Regions from separate parts of the Homo sapiens genome. Here all the other regions are linked to region 5. Evidence: promoter capture Hi-C in 16 types of primary human blood cells and fetal thymus (Javierre and others, 2016). All regions are on one chromosome and are shown on one strand. The core of a region is centred on a gene start or on the middle of the fragment in contact, and the rest is flanking DNA. Distances in the headings are between cores, read along the strand shown.

Region 1 (2,700 bases), core at 197-2,696, 550 kb after region 5:
AAATATACTGTTATATAAACTTGCTGGGATGCCTAGTTTTTTTTAGCTTTCTTGATAGGATTATATCTGATTATAATAGTTTAAATAGAACAGATATTAAATTGTCAGCATTTATTTTTATTTTTATTTATTTATTTTTGGGGATAGGGTCTTGCTCTGTCACCCAGGCTGGAGTGCAGTGGCACAATCGCAGCTCACTGCAGCCTTGACTTCTCCAGCTCAAGTGTTTCTCCCACCTCAGCTTCTTGAGTAGCTGGGACCACAGGCACCTGCTGCCAAGCCCGGCTAATTAAACAATTTTTTTTTTGGTAGAAATGAGGTCTTATTGTGCTGCCCAGGCTGGTCTTGAACTACTGGGCTCAAGCAATCCTCCCACCTCGGCCTCCTAAAGTGCTGGGATTATAGGTGTGAGCCACTGTGCCCGGCCTATGAGGTTTTATTTACAGGTTTCTTTTAATTGCTTCCTATAAAAGTGCTTCATATATAAGTGACCTTACACTGAGTAATAGAGTGAAGATATTAGATGATGACAAGGCATTTTATCACGGCTTTCCTGTTTTCATGTGACTGATACCATAGCAGTAATGTTCAAAGCTTTCATGTCTTATTTTATTTTTGATGTGTCATAAAGCATAGCCAATACAGCCTCTGCTCTCTAATGTGATAGAGTAACATGGAATGCAGTGGTGATTGATCAATTGGATTTGTCAATGTCTTAAAAAGTAGTAATATGATTCTTTTTTAAATTAAAGAAGACATAACTTTGACAGGCCGATTAAATTGGGGATGAGAAATGCCAATCCAGTGAATCAATTGTTGGCATAGACATAAGAAACAGGACCCAGTTTATGTCTAGTTTCCAGGACTGGTGAGCAGGGCTCTTTCCAAGGTCATTTTGGAGTATTCTAAACCAATTTCTTGGAAGGTCGGTTGAAAATAAAAGCCCTTCTTCTCTGCTTTGTCCCAAGTGGGCAGGTAGCAAATGTCTTTGCTTGGTGACCGTGCCAGGGAAGCACAGCTGAAGTCAGACAAGCCAGGGTTGGAATTGTGGCTGCATCACTTCTTAGCCATGTGACTTGGAAAACTGCTTACATGGGCAGCTGACTTCCCCTAGTGCTCTTGTTGTGAAAATTAAACCAGAGAGTACATTCTGACTGCAGTGCTTGGTACACGGTGCTCTGGGATAATCACATACGACTATCCATTTGGAAACAGGGCTCTGTTTCTAACCAGTATATGTTTGGGTTGCTACATATGGGAAGGAGCACGTCTTCACTTCCTGCTTCCACATCCACGGTCATCTAAACCAGCTCAAAAAATCTAAACCAGCTGTCGTCCTTTTCCCCTTTGCTATCTCAGAGGTGGAGCAGGGAGACTATGGTGTGGCAGCTACAGTGGTAGCAGTGGTGGAAGCCATGGATTGTAGCAGTAGTGATGGCATCTTGAAGCCAAAAGTTCAGTGATGGCCCTTTGACTTCTGGCCCTCCAGCACTTCCACTGATATTTCATGAATTTTTATTTTTATTATTATTATTATTGAGACAGGGTCTTTCTCTGTCAGCCAGGTTGGAGTGGAGCAGCATGATCACAGCTCACTGCAACCCTGACCTCCTGGGCTCAAGCAATCCTCCCATTTCAGCCTCCTGAGTAGCTGGTATTACAGACGGGCACCACTACACCAGTAATTTTTTTTTTTTTTTTGTATTTTTATTAGAGATGGAGTTTTGCCATGTTGCCTAGGCTGGTCTCAAACTCCTGTGCTTAAGCAATCTGCCTGCCTCGGCCTCCCAAAGTGCTGGGATTACAGGTGTGAGCCACCTTGCCTGGCCTAAATTCTTCAAATACCTAGAATGCTTTTGATTTTCTTCACTGAACTCTGACAGATACAAGTGCTTGAGGTCATTTAAATAAAATCCTGGCTTTGACCCTGGGTATCAATCTGGGTTACTACTGTTCTTTTCCTTCTTTGTTTTTTTTTTCTTTTTGAGATGGAGTCTCACTATGTCACCAGGCTGGAGAGCAGTGATGTGATCTCAGCTCACTGCAACCTCTGACTCCCTGGTTCAAGCGATTCTCCTGCCTCAGCTTCCTGAGTAGCTGGGATTACAGGCACATGCCACTACGCCCAGCTAATTTTTGTATTTTTAGTAGCGACAGGGTTCACCATGTTGGCCAGGATGGTCTCTGTCTCCTGACCTCATGAGCCGCCCGCCTTGGCCTCCCAAAGTGCTGTGAATACTGTTCTTTTCTTCATGATCGAGCTTCAGGGAAGAGTGGTTCCTTAATACCTAAAGCTTCCTATGCACCTTTGCACTTAATTCTACCACAATCAGGCTTTCTCTCTGCTACTGAAGCACTGATATGCCTTGACCAAGGTCAGCAATGACCAACCAAATGCCAATTTTAGTGGACTCTTTCCATCCTTGTCTTATTTAACCACTATTGGACACTGTGGATCACACTTTTCTTTCTGGAACGTGTTCTTCTCTTGGTCCCTGTAACACAATCTCTCCCAACTACCTCTTATATCTTTGGTCACTCTTGGCCAACCTCCATTGTGAGCTCCTTATCCTCTCTAAATTTTGGCACTCCCCAGAGTTCCAGCTTCAGAGCTCTTCTCTTCTTAGTATAATACACTGAGCAACCGAATAGACTTCTGTGATTTCTGCTACTGTACCTATGGTAACGACTCTCAAATCT
Region 2 (2,700 bases), core at 19-2,518, 540 kb before region 5:
GTGGCTCACACCTGTTATCCCAGTACTTTGGAAGGCCAAGGCAGGCAGATGGCTTGAGCCCAGGACTTCAAGACCAGCCTGGCCAACTATGGCAAAACCCCATCTCTACCAAAAATACAAAAATTGGCCAGGTGCAGTGGCTCACGTCTATAATCCCAGCACTTTGGGAGGCTGAGGCAGGTGGATCACCTGAGGTCAGGAGTTCGAGACCAGGCTGGCCAACATGGAGAAACCCAGTCTCTACTAAAAATACAAAAATTAGCCAGGCATGGTGGCAGGCACCTGTAATCCCAGCTACTCAGGAGGCTGAAGCAGGAGAATTGCTTGAACCCGGGAGGCAGACGTTGCAGTGAGCCGAGATCATGCCACTGCACTCCAGCCTGAGCAAGAGAGTGAGACTCCACCTCAAAAAAATAAAAATAGAAATACAAAAATTAGCCGGGCATGGTGGTACACATCTGTAATCCCAGCTACTCAGGAGGCTGAGGCATGAGAATTTCTTGAACCTGGGAGACAGAGGTTGCAGTGAGCTAAGATAGCAACACTCTACTCCAGCCTGGGCAACAAAGCCAGACTCTGTCCCTGCCCCCCAACAACAATAACAAAAAAACACTCAGGGTCTGCTGCTGGAAAAGGCCCAGAACAACCAAACTCTCTTCTCTGCTGTTTTAGGTACAAAGACCAGCTACTGGCTAAGCGTGTTCAGTTTCTCTCAAAAACCACTTTCACCCAAGGTATAGATTTGGGAAAATTAAAAGCCTGAACTACATTCCGCAAACAGTATACTAAAACCCTTACTTGGGAGAGTAATAAAGTTCACAATATATTGTAATGATTTTTTTTTTTTTTAATAAATTTTTGGAGACAGAGTCTCACTCTGTCACCCAGGCTGGAGTACAATGGTGCAATCTCTGCTCATTGCAACCTCTGCCTCCCGGATTTAAGCAATTCTCATGCCTCAGCTTCCCGAGTAGCTGGGACTACAGGCACATGCTACCATGCCCAGCTGATTTTTTTATTTTTAGTAGAGACAGGGTTTTGCCATGTTGGCCAGGCTGGTCTCAAACTCCTGACCTCAAGTGATCCGCCTGCCTCAACTTCCCAAAGTGCTGGGATTACAGGCATGAGCCACCAGGCCCGGCCTTATTGTAATGATTTTTTTAAAACCCATCCTAATCCCAAAGCACTTCAATATCCTCCAAAATATAAAAGAATCTATTAGTGGTATATCACATTTTATTAATGAATCTCTGGATTCAAAGGATAAATCCCAGATGGTTATTCCCTTTTAAAAAGTATTCTCAGCTTTATAAAAAGATTCCCAAAAGAATTTTTACTTTAAAATGTAATTTGAGTTCTAAAATATAATTTAATAATTTAAAATGTGCCAAAATTTTTGGAAGCATGCATCGAAAGATTAAGGCAAGCAATAACTTCTTTTTTTGAGATGGAGTCTCGCTCTGTCGCCAGGCTGGAGTGCAGTGGTGTGATCTTGGCTCACTGCAACCTCCGCCTCCTGGGTTCAAGCAATTCTCCTGCTTCAGCTTCCTGAGTAGCTGGGACTACAGGCGCGCGCCACCACGCCCAGCTAATTTTTGTATTTTTAGTAGAGACAGGGTTTCACCATGTTGGCCAGGATGGTCTCAATCTCTTGACCTTGTGATCCGCCTGCCTTAGCCTCCCAAAGTGCTGGGATTACAGGCGTGAGCCACCATGCCCAGGCTTTTTTTTATTTTTTGAGACAGAGACCCACTCTGTCACCCAGGCTGGAGTGCAGAGGTGCAATCTCACCTCACCATAACCCCCGCCTCCCGGGTTCAAGTGATTCTCCTGTCTCAGCCTCCCGAGTAGCTGCGATTACAGGCCCATGCCACCGTGCCTGGCTAATTGTTGTATTTTTAGTAGAGATGGGGTTTCGCCATATTGGCCAGGCTGCGCTTGAACTCCTGACCTCAGGTGATCTGCGCCTCGGCCTCCCAAAGTGCTGGGATTACAGGCATGAGCCACTGCACCCGGCCTAGCAATAACTTATAATTAAATTTACACTTTACAGTTCAAGGGAATAAAGTTCAAAGAAAAGATGCCAATGCAAAGATAACTTTCACTAGTCCTATGCCTTGTTTAAAAATCTCACAGTCCACACCCTCTTAACTAAAGATTCTTACTTCAGACACAATGATGTCCATCTGACGTCTCAATTTCCTTAGGGTGTTCATAAGTTGTTCGGGATCTTTATGTATTCCAACCCAGCAGCCATTAACAAAAATCTTGGTTGCACTACAATGAAAAAGCAAAAGCATTTTACACTTAACAATTCTATACTAAGCAACAACTAAAGATTAACTATAGTTTAAAAAACTAATTCCATCTATACACACTCAGCAATAGCTGCAGGAGAAATTTCTTCTAAATTTTCCATACTCCATTCTTCTAAAAATTCCAGAATTGGAGATGGTTGAGATCCAACTGAAATATACGCCATCAAGGCTAAATTCTTCACAAGTCCTACAGCATGGCCCTAAAAAATAAACCAAGTATTAGTCATTCTGATTTTACATGCCTATCAAACTTCTTTTCCATAAACATTTTTCCTTCAATGTGATTTCAAGATTTATTCTTACTTTCTAAGAATACAATTATAAAAAAAACTTATTTCTAAACCACTCTGCATAATTTTTCAAACATCTATTTCTAAAAGTA
Region 3 (2,700 bases), core at 164-2,663, 590 kb before region 5:
CCAGGCTTGGTGGTTGCTCACCTGTAGTCTCAGCCACTCAGGAGGCTGAGGCAGGAGGATGGCTTGAGCTTGGACTCCTGGGAGTCCAAGACCAACCTGGGCAATGTAACAAGATCTCATCCCAAGAAAAGAAGGAGAAATTTCCTAGGGAAACTCACTATCTAGGCTTCTAGGAATCCCAGAATCAGGTGTGACCATCCACGTGGTTAGCAATAAGTTTCCTATGGGAACTTCCCACCCAATTCAGTGCTTGCAGAATAAGAAAGCGCTAGCAAAAACATTTAATATCTTGTATTTAAGGTGAGTCATAGTCCAGACAGGACAGGCCCATGAGATGTGGAAAAAATGTGTTTCCAAGGCTATGTTAACATCACTAGGGAGTTTCGTCTCGGGAAAGCACTCTCTATAAAGTCAGTTCTTCCAGGTCCTCAAACCAATTCAAAACCTAGCCTGCTGATTCAACTTGTGTGGACCTCAGCCAGTCTGGTATTAGGATGATAGTGTAGGTATTCCAGCTTCCTAGGGGAGCTCTGCTGAATACGTTAGCTCATCCCTGGGCAATGTTGTTGGCACAGCCCCATGTTACCTCATCTATCACATGGTTACCAGAGCGAGCTCACCATCTTGCACACCTGAACATGGTTTCAAGTCCTTCATGGATTTGCTTCATGGCAGTAGCAGGGTCCCTTCAAGAATGACACCAGACCACATGTACCAGAACCACCATGGGCAAGAACCACACCCTGGAGTCAGACTCTTTGTCAGTACCCCACTTTTTTTTAATGCTAGACCCATACAAGGAAGGGGACAAGAATAAGAAAACATCATCAAGGGCCAGGTGCGGTGGCTCACGCCTATAATCCCAGCACCCTGGGAGCCCGAAGCGGGCAGATCACCTGAGGTCAGGAGTTCGAGATCAGCCTGATCAACATGGTGAAACTCCATCACTGCTAAAATTACAAAAATTAGCCAGGTGTGATGGTGTGTGCCTGTAGTATCAGCTACTCTGGAGGCTGAGGCAGGAGAACTGCTTGAACCTGGGAGGCAGGGGCTGCAGTGAGCCGAGATTGTACCACTGCACTCCAGCCTGGGCGACAGAGTAAGACTTCATTTCAAAAAAAAAAAAAAAGATAGAAAAGAAAGCATCATCAAATAAGAGATTTGTTTGCAAGCAACCAACACATTGCAAGAAGCAACTTTCTGTGCATGTTCTGTGGTCAATTCAAAATTACAGTGATAATTGTGAGATATCACAAGATTGACAGTCATCGTAGTGAGATATTTGAGTACTATGTCCACTTGAGAAAAACAGACTTCATGCTCCCTACGAAGATTCTCAGCATCAAAGATTGGACCCAAAACGAGGTGTCTTATTAATCCAGAGGTAACTAGCAATCAGCCAGGAACTCAACTCACAAGACCTGGGCACGCGGTCACCAGGGCAGCATTGTATTGAATGGTCTGCTCTTAGATGGACTGGCCCTGCAAATACGTGCCTGGAAGCTAAGCAAGGCCGTGCTATTCACTTATCTGCTTTACCTGGGGTGGGGTGGGGACGGGCCAGGTGGTCAGCAGTGAGCTGATGGAACTCCCTCTGGAGAAACTAGTGAGAGGGAGTGCCAAATCTGTCTTCCTTCCACCCAAAGGACCCCACATAGCCTTCCCAGGGCTAAAATGTCAGCTAGACAGTGCTTGCCTTGGCACTTCTGGTCTCCCCACTGGGGTTCAGTGCCTCCTCATGGCCCAGGTGATACCTGAAATTCAGCAAATTTAAACCCAAGTCCACCCTTTCCCCTTCTTCAATCCAGCACCTTCCTCAGACTGACACCCCTGCTTCTGTTCATGGTGCGGCAGCCTCCTGGAACCTTTGAGGCTCACAGCCTTTAAATCATGCCTCTCTTTCCTACATCCAGTCAGTTACTGGGTAGTGTTAGTTCTTCCTGAATAATCCCCCAAGTCTTCCCCTTTTCTCTGTCTTCTCATTGCTGCGACCTTGAGTTAGAGCCTTAATCCCCGCCATGTCCCATCCTGATGCGGAGACCTCCAAAATCATCTTGGGAAATGCCACTTGAATCATGACACTCCCACTTTCAGAGACACATTGGAGGGTGAGGCCCCACCTCATCTGCTTTCTGCTGTGCCCTACACCACACACGAATCCTCTTCCCGAGCTGGCCCGCATGCTCACTATTCAAGGCAGGCCAGCGTTTTCCTGCCTCTCCTCAGGCAGGTCCCTGTCTTTCACCTTCCTTGATGAAAGTCTAATTTCTGAAATGAAAAGCAACAGCTCATACTTACTGAATGTTTACCCCATGCCAGGTACTGTGCTAATGGCTGTATCTTGTTTGATCCTTTTGATGGTCTAATGACTGGGATACTATCATTCCATTTCACAGATGAATAAAGCAGGGGAAGTGAAATAACTTGTGCAATGTTGCATAACTCAGGAGTGGTAGAGCAGAATTCCTGATTCCAAGTCCACGCTCCAAAGTCACTATAGTCTATTACCTCCCAGCATTTTGTTCTTACTCTTAATGCGCTAAGCCTCCCCAACACCACCCCAACAGATTATATTTAGAGAAGAGGAAGCAGTTCTTACACACTTTTGCCCTAAACAGTGTTTGGCAGGGTCCCATTATTATAAACTATTGGTTCTTCATTCACACTAAAGTGGAAATGACTAACAGTAGCTTCCATAAC
Region 4 (2,700 bases), core at 9-2,508, 930 kb after region 5:
TGCCTAGCTAAGAACTTATCATTTGTATTAAAATATGGTTTAATGTAAAGAGTTGCCTTTCTCCATTCCCCCCTCCCCTCCCCTCCCCTCCTCTCCCCTCCTCTCTTGCCCCCAATTAAAAAATAGCACATCCCTAATGTGGGAAACAGTAAGAAAGCATAGATTACATTTTAGGCAGGGCACAGTGGCTCACACCTGTAATCCCAGCACTTTCGGAGGCTGAGGTGGGTGGATCACTTGAGGTCAGGAGTTTGAGACCAGCCTGGCCAACATGGTGAAACCCTGTCTCTACTAAAAGTACAAAAATTAGCCGGGCATGGTGGCGGGTGCCTGTAATCCCAGCTACTTGGGAGGCTAAGGCAGGAGAATTGCTTGAACCCAGGAGGCAGAGGTTGCAGTGAGCAGAGATCACGCCATTGCACTCCAGCCTGTGCGACAGATCAAGACTCAGTCTCAAAAAAAAAAAAAAAAAATTAATATCATTGGAGATCATACCACCGAAAGTGCTGTTGTTAATCTTCTTGATTATCTATCTGCTTCCTGCATTTTGTTGAGCCATTACATAAGTATATGTATACTTATATGATGTTATGGGCTCCTAATGTAGTCCACTGCAGTGCAAGCTGTTCAGTTAACAGTGAATCATCAACATATTTTCATGTCAGTATTTTTCTGCTATGTGATTATTTTTAGTAGGTATGTAACATTCTCATCTCTGTGTAATAATTTACTTATCAATCTTCTGTTGGACATTGAAGTTGTTTTCAATTTTTAGGATAATAATACTGTCACTTCCCTATATCATGCATTTTGATACTGGCCTACCTAGTATCAGTGATTTTTTCTATTTTTGTTTCTCTGAAAATATCTCAATTTCACCTTTTTTTTTTTTTTTTTTTTTTTTTTTTGAGACAAGGTCTCACTCTGGCACCCAGGCTGGAGTGTAGTGGTGTGAACATGGCTCACTGTAGCCTCAACCTTTTGGGCTCAGGCAATCCTTCACCTCAGCCTCCTCAGTAGCTGGAACCACAGGCACATGCCACCATGCCCAGCTAATTTTTAAATTTTTTGTATAGGCGGGGTCTTGTCATGTTGCCCCGGCTGTTCTTGAACTCCTGGGCTTAAGAGATCCCCCCACCTTGGCCTCCCAAAGTGCTGGGTATAGGTGTGAGCCACCATGCACGGCAGTTTCACCTTTTTTGAAGTGGTTTTTGGTGTTTTTTTTGTTGTTGTTGTTGTTGTTTTTTTGAGACAGTCTCGTTCTGTTGCTTAGGCTGGAGTGCAGTGGCGTGATCTGAGCTCACTGCAGCTTCTGCCTCCTGGGTTCAAATGATTCTCATGCCACAGCCTCCTGAGTAGCTGGGATTACAGGCATGTGCTACCATACCCAGCTAAATTTTTTGTATTTTTAGTAGAGATAGGATTTTGCCATGTTGGCCACGCAGGTCTCCAAACTCATGGCCTCAAGTGATCTGCCCACCTTGGCCTCCCAAAGTGCTAGGATTACAGGCATGAGCCACTGTGGCTGGCCTGAAGTGTGTTTTCACTGGCTATTAAGTTCTAAGTTGGTAGTTATTTTCTTTCAACACATTAAGAATGTTTGGTTGCTTTCTGTCTTCCTTTCTTTTTGTTGAAGTCAGCTACCAGTCTTATTGAAGGCAATGTATTAGCTATATTCTTGCTGAGGATAATGTGTCTTTTATTTTTCCTTGGCTAATTTTAAGACTCTCTGTGTTACTTTTAAAGCACTTTGATGTGTTCAGATGTGGTTTTCTTTGTTGCTTTATGTTTATAGAGTTTTTTGAATCTAGCTGGATGCCTTTTAGTTTTGGAAAGTTCTGTTACCACCTTTTCATATATTCTGCCCCTTTTTTCTTTTTGGATCCTAATTACACATATATTAAACTTAATTATCATGTTCCACATGTTGAAAAAAATTTTTTTCTCTGTTTGGATATTTTCTATCGACCTGCCTTCCAGTATGCCAAAACTATCTTCTCTTTTTGTCAAAATAATCTTTTGTGTTCTTAATTTTACATTGTGGTTTTGAGTTCTAGAGTATTCCTTTGATGTTGTTTTATAGACTTGTAATAGACTCCAGTTCTCTTGAACATACTAATTATAGTTATTTAAATGCTTGTCTTTTCCAATATCGGCATCATCTATTGGTCTGTTTATCTTGTTTGTTTTTCTGTTGGTTATTGGTCATATGGTTGTATTGTTCCGTCTCTTCACATGCCTGATAAGTTTTCGAAGGAACTTACCCATTTCATTTAACTTGTTGCATTTATTGCAAAAAGTTGCTTATAATACTCTATTATTGTTCTTTTAATATCTGTAGAAAGTGTAATGAGTCTAATATCTGTATAACCTGTAGAGATTTAGTATCATTCCGAATACTAGTAATTTGTCTCTGCTCCCCTTTTCCCTGATTAGTCTGGCTAGAAGTTTATTAATTTTATTGAGGTTCTTAAAAAGTTAACTTTTAGTTTAATTGACTGCCTGTGGTTTTCTTATTTCCGCCCTGGTCTTTATTTCCTTTCCTCAGCTTACTTTTGGGTTTAATTTGTTTTCTTTTTCTGGTTTCTTAAGATAGAAGCTGAGGTCATTGATTTGTGACCTTTTTTCTTTTCTAATGTAAGCATGCTATAAACTTCCCTTTAATTGTTTATAATTTATTTATTTGTTTTTTGAGACAAG
Region 5 (2,700 bases), core at 156-2,655:
TGACCAAAGTATAAGGAAGAACTCAGGTGGCAAGTTTCAACGCTAACAACTGTTCGGTGTTAAAATGACCAGGATCATAGTTACTCTTGCTCCTGTGCAACTACAGAAGTCCAATTCTCAAAGAATCACAAGAATTTCTACCAATTAAGAAAACATACTGGTAAACAAGTTGACAATCTTTGCTGATTAAAGAATTCCTGCAAAATACTATACTAAGTATACAGTACTGGTTGGAAGGCTAGAGTTAATTCAAACAAATTTAGGGATCAAATAATTCTAATTCGTAGCTATTTTCCTCAATGTCTGAAATCACCAAAAGTGCACTGTGGGCACAATCACTACTTTTCACGTTAACCCAGTACTAGAGTGTTGAAAATTACTTAGATAGCTTTGCATGTTACTGACACACCTTTTAGGTTACTGCTACTCTGAACAGCTAAGCCCTGCCTTGGTAATTACATTTCCAAATCTAACATGCACAGGCTGTATCTTCAGTAGAGAAGAACTGCGCACCACCGAGAACATTAAGCAGCATGGCCATATTCCAGGTATGTAGTAAGGAACAAAAGAATATGATGAATTAAACCTCACACCAAAGGCGGTAAAAACCGAAATCATCCCTTACAGGGCAAAAAAACAGGCCAAACTTTTCTTCCGACATTATTTCAAGTGTTGGTGCTTCCACACACATATTTCCTAACTTAATAACACTGAAGAGATCTCATCTATGGGAATGACAGGCCTGACATCCAGATCCAGCCCTTTCCTCTCGCCCCGTAGAACCCGTACAGCTTCCACCTGGTTAGCACCAGCCTCTAAACTACGTGTCCCAAGCAGGTTCCTCCCCCTTTAGCGGCCAAAGAGAACAAGCTCCCTCAGCAATAGAGTCCTGATCACTGCGCTCAAGACGAAGAAGAAAAGGAGGCACTTTGGAATATTTGTGAAATAAAGCAGCAAAGGAGTCAAATAAGAAAACAGTTTGAAATGGACTCCGGGAGCTGCGGTCTCTTTAAAACCTTCCCTCGCTTCCCGCGGAGGGTAAAAAGAGAAGTACACGTGGCTGTAAGCAACCAGGGACCCCAGGCTGGCCTGGTGAAGCCGAGGAGTGAGACCTGCGTCTTCCGGGCGCTAGGGCCCGAGCCGGGCGGACAATAGACGGGGGGGTTTCGGGGGTCTCCCCTTCCCGTGCCTCCCGCGCGAGGTGGTCTCGCGCGCCGGAAACAGGCCGCATCCTCCAGCCGGCCTGGGCCCGCCCCAGTGCCCACCCCGACACTTACTCTTATTGACGGTCTTGAGAGCGCGCGTGAAGTCGCCGTTCTGGCCATACCGGTTCACTTCACTCCACAGCGCAGGTACTGACACCCCCCCGCTGCCGCCGCTCGCCATCTTGGAGGAGACGAGGGGCGGGGCGGGGAGACCTCTGCCCCGGAACAGGATCTCCGAGGCAGCCAAGAGGAGGAGGAAGTCGATGATTGCTAAGCGTCGCCGAGTTGGGAGTGTCTTCAGCCCTAAGGCAGCATCAGAGATCATAATCTTCTGCTCTCGTGGCAAGAAATTTGTGCGGATAGAGTTGATACACCTCACTTGAAGTTGGCCTGGAGAAAAGAGGCGTCGGACTCCTGGACGGGGTTGGGAAACGGTCACCAGTTTCGGCTCAAAGCAGCCTGTTTCCAGGAGACCGCCATGGTCGAGGCAGCGTCCTGGTCCCACGGTGCGGGGCCGGACGATCATTTATGGGATATAAATAAAAGGACTATGAGGTGGTAAATAAAAGACTACCAACTAGAAGCCATAGGGAGTCATTTGAAGGAGAAATAGGCACGGCTCATCTGTGGTTGAGGGAAAGGGATCTTGAAAGATGATTAGGAGAACTTGGGTTCTGGGGAAAGTGCGGGAAGACATTCTGGCAGAGAAGCAAACGTGAGGAAAGGTAAGAAGGCAAGAATCTCCCATTACAAAGGGTTTGGTGAAACCCTTTGCCTGTCCTTTTCGCTCCCTTCGGGAGCAGTCGGCAATAAGCTGGAAGGGTAATGGGGTGAAAATGCCCGTGGTCAGTTCCCTGGCTCTGCGACTCACTAGATGTCTGACAATAAACAAGTTACTTAGCTTCTGGGAGTCTGTTTTCCCGATTGTGAAATGGGGATACTATATTTGTTCTAGAGATATAAAATATTAGGGTTTGCTTGCGACCGTTAATATCAAGATGTGTTCAGATGTACGAAGGGAATGGATATCTGTTGGGTACACTTGATGTGAGTGATTTTTTTTTTTTTTTGAGACGGGGATCTTGCCGTGTTGCCCAAGCTGGTCTGGAACTCCTGGGCTCAAGCAATCCTCCCACCACAGCCTCCCCAAGTGCTGGGATTACAGGCATGAGCCACCACACCAAGACGATGTGAGTGATTCACTTGATGTGAATGTTGTATTTCATTGAATGGCCTGCTCTTCAGACTCATATCTCGTCATGACCTTTACAACTTCTACTACTTCCTGTGTCCCTCAGGAACCTAGCTTTTTTTTTTTTTTTTTTTTTTTTTTTTTGAGACGTAGTCTAGCTCTGTGACCCAGGATGAACCTCACTGCAATCTCCACCTCCTGGGTTAAAGCGATTCTTTTGCCTCAGCCTCCCAAGTAGCATGAGCCACCACGCCCGGTTAATTTTTGAATTTTTAGTAGAGATGGGGTTTCACTGTGTTGGCC
Region 6 (2,700 bases), core at 62-2,561, 600 kb after region 5:
GCTGGGTTCTGTGGATAGTACTAAATAAAGATCATGGTGTTGACTATAGTCATTGAGGACAATTAGAAGGAGGAACTGAAGTAAAAAAGTTCCTAGTATCAATAGAAATAAGTTGGGAAATCAGTGAAACTTGAATAGCTAATAATGTAACCCTTAAACCACTTGTCTCATGTATTTCTTGTCAAAACCTTTATAACAAGTTACAGGCTTAGTCTCACATTCTTGGTCACATTTTTGTCATTTCTAATGAACATACCTGGTCGAAGAGCTACATTCATGCACTGCAGAAGGGCATCAGCAGCATTGGTGCAGGCCTCAATGCCTCTGGAAGAAGCAAGATCTCCTTCCTGAAGGGCCTTTATATGACCTTTGGCCAAGTCCATGTGGTTCTAGAATATATGCAAACACACCATTTGCATGTGTAATTTTGGGAAATTTACAGGCAAGATGCTATTCAGTCCTATCATTAGGTCTTTGGAATTATTTTAAATCCTGTTCTCACAAGGAAATTAAAAAATGTTTACAAATGGGTTTTATATATCATCACTAGTTTTTTTTTGTTGGTAATTTATGATCATACTTACCACAAGGAACTCTATCTCAGATAGGAGTTTTACATTATTAGTGTTACTAAGATGAATTAGGTGGTTGCTTTCAGAGATCTGATCCATTTGTTCTTTTACACTTTGGAGCATTTCCTCATAACTGCTCAGTTTCAATTCAATCTGATCTACCTCCTTTAGAGCCTCATCTAGCAATTTCATCAGGATGTTGACTTGTTTTTCAGATGCCATGATTGACTGGATGTTAGCCTACAAAGTTAAAGACCAAAACAAACAAACAAACAAACAAACAAACAAAAAACATACTTGTTATTTAGATGTGTAAAAGAATAAAGGTGAAATGTTGCTAAATTTCCTTGAAAGTAGCATAACAAAAATTGATATATACCTACACATCTACTTCAGTTTATCACTTTATGTTCTTCCATGTTTTACACAGTATTTCATGCAGGTACACTTGCCTCTAAATCAATGTTAGGGACCATGCCTTAGGATTTTATATTTCCACAGACTGCACAAGTAAGGTTCCAGAATGCACAAGTAAGGTGCCAGAAAGTATCACTGGTAATGGCACATTCTCATTTCTATACATTTAGGAGGCATTAGGCCATGTTATCTCTAACATTTCCTCCAATTCTACCAGCTAGAAATTTTCTTAACACCTATGTGAAACCCTAAATAAAAGCATAATCACCTATGTGATATCTTAGTTGAGAAAGCAGCAGTGGTATACCAGACTCTGAAGGATATATGAAACTAATTTATAACTGTAGTATGATGGGAACTAGTAACAGGATGTAGAAGAGCATACGGCCGATAGCTCCTTCTATCATCTTTTTTCTTTTCTCTTTCAACTGTTTTTTTTTTCTTCCCCAGGCAAAGCAGTAACAAACCACCATCCCCTTATCACTATTTTCTAAATGATTCTGACTATTGATTCTGAATTCCCTGAAATAAGGAAACTGCCAAATCCAAAATTAAACTGCAAAGCAATATGCTGACTTGGAACATATATACCATATTAATTAGAACAAAAAATATAAATCACTAAGCCATATTAAGAAGGCAAGTAACATGGTACGATGAAAAACCTGGACCAGAAATTTAAAGGATATCATTGTACAGCTGACGCTGTGGTTTCACACGTTATTTACATACTATCCACAGTAAATAAAATGTAAGTGCAATACGACTTTAAGAGTCAGAAGGGTTCAGAAGCCACTGACATCTCTTAAGTAACAGAGCTGGGGTTTGAATCTGCCCAGGATTTCTTCCTTAACATCTTAAAATCATTTCTAGGCTTTGCTTTCAGTGAACTCTGTAAACTTGTAAGCCTGGACTATTCATATAATCTCTCTGGGCCTGAGTCAGACCCCATAACTTCTGTACCTTTCATGTATACAACACTAAAATTTAAGTCTTTAAAATGTTCCTTATCCTCTGAGGGATTTCTTAAATGCTTACCTTTTCTTAAAACCAGAACAAACCCAAATGATTTTAGATTACTCTAGCATAAGAGATGCGGTGTGTTTGATTTTTTTGTTTTGTTCTGTTTTGTTTTGAGACAGAGTGTCACTCTGTCACCCAAGCTGGAGTGCAGTGGCACGATCTCAGTTCACGGCAACCTCTGTCTTCCAGGTTCAAGCGATTCTTGTGCCTCAGCCTCCCAAGTAGCTGGGACCACAGGAGCATGCCACCATGTCTGGCTAATTTTTTTTTTTTTAGTAGAGATGTGGTTTTGCCATGTTGGCCAGGCTCGTCTCGAATTCCTGACCTCAGGTGATCTGCTCGCCTCAGTCTCCGAAAGTGTTGAGATTACAGGTGTAAGCCACTGCCCCAGCAGGTGCTGTGCATTTGAATTACACTCAAAAACTGCACACAAAACAAAAAGGTCTATTCTAAAACATTTTAGCAAAGAAGTCACAGATCTTTTTCTCTGGCTCTCCTGTTTTCACCACACTCACTCCACTCTTCTTTGGTAAATGATTCACATATTTCAGCCACATTTCTCTCTTTATACTTCATCCCTATTTTTATTTTTTTCAAACCACACACATACACACAAATGCTATTCTTTGGCACTGAACTATTCAGACATGTTTCAGAGGCTGAGCGAATCAACTCCCAAGATGTTCTC
Region 7 (2,700 bases), core at 135-2,634, 570 kb after region 5:
TACACACATTGACATAATGGCTTAAATAGATTACATTAATTGAAGCTTACTCTTTATCAGCACAGTACAAAGCACTTTATGAATATATTATAGTATTAAGTCTCATGATGACCTGGTGAGGGTGGGTATTATGATCATCTTCCCTATTTGACAGCTGAGGGAATGTATTCTTCCAAGATTTTTTCTTGTAAATCCTAAATCTCATAAATCCTAAATTCCTGCCAACTTAAGACCAATCGCTATTCCCTAAGCAGTGTTATGCTTTTTACTTTTCATCGTTTAGCTCATATTATTTCTTTCTAGAATGCTACTCCCTCCATCCCCACTTTGCCTGTTCAAGTACATCTGACTTTCAGAGGTTAAAACAAACAATGCAATATCCCTCAGGAAGTCTTCCATGATGTTGAAATCAGAATTACTCTCACTCATATCTGGGCCTTTCAATATGGTTTATAAAGAATAATGGCCTAATTTGGACTTTAAATCTGGCTCCACTACCCATTAGTTAAGAGAGCTTGGTCCTATTACTCCACCTCTCTAAGCTGATTTTCTTTCTTTCTCTTTCTTTCTTTTTCTTTCTTTCTTTCTTTTTTTTTTTTTTTTTAATTGAGACACGGCCTCACTCTGTTGCGTAGGCTGGAGTGCAGTGGTAGGATCATAGTTCACTGGAGCCTCAATCTCCTGGGCTCAAGTGATCCTCCTGCCTCAGCTTCCCGAGTAGCTGGGACTACAGGCACGTGCCACCATGCCCAGCTAATTTTTTTAATTTTTAGTAGAGACAAGGTCTTGCTATGTTGCCCAATACAGTGGCTACTGTACAAGAGATGTATCGTTTCCACTTATCAAATAAGGAAACTAAGGCTCAGAGAGGTTAAGTAACTTCCCAAAGTCACACAGCTTAATCTGGAGCCAGATTATGAACCCATCTCTAATTCCAACCACTCAACCAACCAACCAACCAACCAACCAACCAACCAAAGAAAAACAAACTTAATGCCTCACCATAATATAGCAGAAATACGAAATAAGCAGAAATAGCCATATATGCTTATATAAACAGTATTCCTTTCTTCCTCACAATTCATTAATCTGGTCTGTACTCTAATGGAACTCTCCTCCTGCTCTAGATCTGTAGCATTTCTAGAAAATTATTTAAAGAAAAGCAATATATGTAAGGATCTTTAAGTCAGATGGTCAAAAGAAGTAAGCATACCTGAAGTAAGTTCTCTTCTTCACATAAATGTTTATCAACTTTCTTGTAGAGGTTATCTAGACCTTTTTTTACTTCCTTTCCAGGGTACTCCTTAATGACTTTACGAAGTTCTTGTTTGTTAAATGCAAGTTGGTAACTTACTTCCTCCTCCCTTATGCCCTGTGCCACGCGAGCTTCAACACCTTCAAAGAAATGCTTCAAGGAAATGAAAAGAAACAATGGCTAAGACCTGCATTTATTATTATTTACATTAAAAAAATCTGATTACAAAGTAGTGTATAATCACCATGCAAAAATCAGTGTGTGAAAGTATAAACAATAAAATAACAATCACTTATTAACATACTTCTGAGATGAACATTGTTAATATTGTAGAGTTCCTTGTAATCTTTTGATGTGTGAATACATACAGGAGATTAAAATTTCATGTCCCACTTTACATTTAATATTGTTTTTTCCTAAATATAAATTTTAATGGCTGCATAATATTTCACACAATGACTGAACCACAATTATTATTCATTCCTCTAGTACTAGATATTTAACATCCCACTCCCCCTTCTTTTTTTGGACTTGGCAAATCTAGTGAGACTTTAGAAAATCTACTATAAATATATTTGTCATAAATTTTTTTTGTATATAAGTATTTACCCATCTTACTGATTAAATTTCCAGGACTATAATTACTCTGTTGAAGAGCATAACTTTAAGTATTTGAAAGATTCTTCAGTATATATACAAACTGCTTCCTAGGAAAGCTCAACCAATTTATATTTCTGTCAACAGTGTATGAGGTTGCTACTTCACTATACCATCATAAGCATTATGACAATTTATAACAATAGTTGCCAGAGTAAAAAAAGTTTGTCATTTTATTTTATAATTCTTTGGCTATAAATAAGGTTAACCTGCTTTTATATGTTTAGTAGTGATTCAGCCCCTTGCCCCATTTATAAATTGGGGTCTTAGTGCTTTTCTTATTGATTTTAGTAAGATTTTTTATATTAAATATACTGACTCTGTTATATTATTGTAACTATTATTCCCAGGTCTTCTTTTATATATATACTTTTATTGACTGGCATAACTGTATTTGAGCACGATACAAAGAATTAATGCTGACAAACCCCATTCCCTCTCATTACTTTTTTCTAAAATTTTCTTAGTGATTATTCATTAAATTATCATTCTTTGAGAAGTTATTCTTAGTGCTTTAAAAATTTTGTTTTTACATAAGCTCTTAATTGGTAGACAGGAAATACATTGTTTTTCAGTATATTTGCTTTAAATTTTGTCACTTGACCAACACCAGTAATTTCAACATATCATATACAGGTGGTGATAATCTCGTCTCTGTTTTCCATATCTCTTATTTATGTTTCAGGTCTTGTTGAACTGGCTAGTGCTTCAACAACAATGCTAAATAATAAAGGATCTAACAATATTTCTGCTTTAAATTGATTTCAGAGGGAATGTCTCTAACGTTG

Evidence for each region. Contacts are between HindIII fragments. The CHiCAGO score rates a contact against its expected background, and 5 or more counts as called.
Region 1: a contact is called between a fragment that was not itself captured here and the fragment with the promoter of SRP72 in region 5, in 1 of 17 cell types (neutrophils). The highest score is 5.4, in neutrophils.
Region 2: a fragment that was not itself captured here is called in contact with the fragment with the promoter of SRP72 in region 5 in 5 of 17 cell types (monocytes, naive CD4 T cells, naive CD8 T cells and 2 more); the score reaches 10.3 in monocytes.
Region 3: a contact is called between a fragment that was not itself captured here and the fragment with the promoter of SRP72 in region 5, in 1 of 17 cell types (monocytes). The highest score is 5.0, in monocytes.
Region 4: a contact is called between a fragment that was not itself captured here and the fragment with the promoter of SRP72 in region 5, in 1 of 17 cell types (total B cells). The highest score is 6.0, in total B cells.
Region 6: a contact is called between a fragment that was not itself captured here and the fragment with the promoter of SRP72 in region 5, in 1 of 17 cell types (neutrophils). The highest score is 6.8, in neutrophils.
Region 7: a contact is called between a fragment that was not itself captured here and the fragment with the promoter of SRP72 in region 5, in 1 of 17 cell types (activated CD4 T cells). The highest score is 5.2, in activated CD4 T cells.

Annotation. Positions count from the first base shown.
Region 1 is chr4:55,919,161-55,921,860 of GRCh38, reverse strand. The region is part of intron 3 of EXOC1-AS1 (EXOC1 antisense RNA 1); the gene reads left to right. Among named protein-coding and RNA genes, the nearest start is that of EXOC1-AS1, 28 kb to the left of the region's middle. RefSeq lists an enhancer at 1-1,163. The HindIII fragment of the contact is 1,700 bases long and covers 597-2,296 here.
Region 2 is chr4:57,010,566-57,013,265 of GRCh38, reverse strand. POLR2B (RNA polymerase II subunit B) reads right to left here. Exons shown (of 25, transcript NM_000938.3): 12 at 2,379-2,518; 13 at 2,166-2,277. Among named protein-coding and RNA genes, the nearest start is that of POLR2B, 33 kb to the right of the region's middle. The HindIII fragment of the contact is 8,493 bases long and covers 1-2,700 here.
Region 3 is chr4:57,051,449-57,054,148 of GRCh38, reverse strand. The region is part of intron 1 of IGFBP7 (insulin like growth factor binding protein 7); the gene reads left to right. Among named protein-coding and RNA genes, the nearest start is that of IGFBP7-AS1, 57 kb to the left of the region's middle. The HindIII fragment of the contact is 3,080 bases long and covers 1-2,700 here.
Region 4 is chr4:55,537,781-55,540,480 of GRCh38, reverse strand. All of the region lies in intron 1 of CLOCK (clock circadian regulator), which reads left to right. Among named protein-coding and RNA genes, the nearest start is that of CLOCK, 7.8 kb to the left of the region's middle. The HindIII fragment of the contact is 5,124 bases long and covers 1-2,700 here.
Region 5 is chr4:56,466,322-56,469,021 of GRCh38, reverse strand. It overlaps SRP72 (signal recognition particle 72), which reads right to left and starts at 1,405. Exons shown (of 19, transcript NM_006947.4): 1 at 1,278-1,405. The coding sequence starts at 1,386. LOC124900706 (a long non-coding RNA gene) reads left to right here and starts at 1,464. Exons shown (of 2, transcript XR_007058126.1): 1 at 1,464-1,930. RefSeq lists an enhancer at 1,351-1,560. The HindIII fragment of the contact is 5,513 bases long and covers 1-2,700 here.
Region 6 is chr4:55,868,790-55,871,489 of GRCh38, reverse strand. EXOC1 (exocyst complex component 1) reads right to left here. Exons shown (of 19, transcript NM_001024924.2): 6 at 585-812; 7 at 257-389. Among named protein-coding and RNA genes, the nearest start is that of EXOC1, 16 kb to the right of the region's middle. The HindIII fragment of the contact is 5,306 bases long and covers 1-2,700 here.
Region 7 is chr4:55,901,052-55,903,751 of GRCh38, reverse strand. It overlaps EXOC1 (exocyst complex component 1), which reads right to left. Exons shown (of 19, transcript NM_001024924.2): 18 at 1,214-1,408. It overlaps EXOC1-AS1 (EXOC1 antisense RNA 1), which reads left to right. Exons shown (of 5, transcript XR_941069.4): 4 at 2,598-2,700. Among named protein-coding and RNA genes, the nearest start is that of EXOC1-AS1, 46 kb to the left of the region's middle. The HindIII fragment of the contact is 2,674 bases long and covers 48-2,700 here.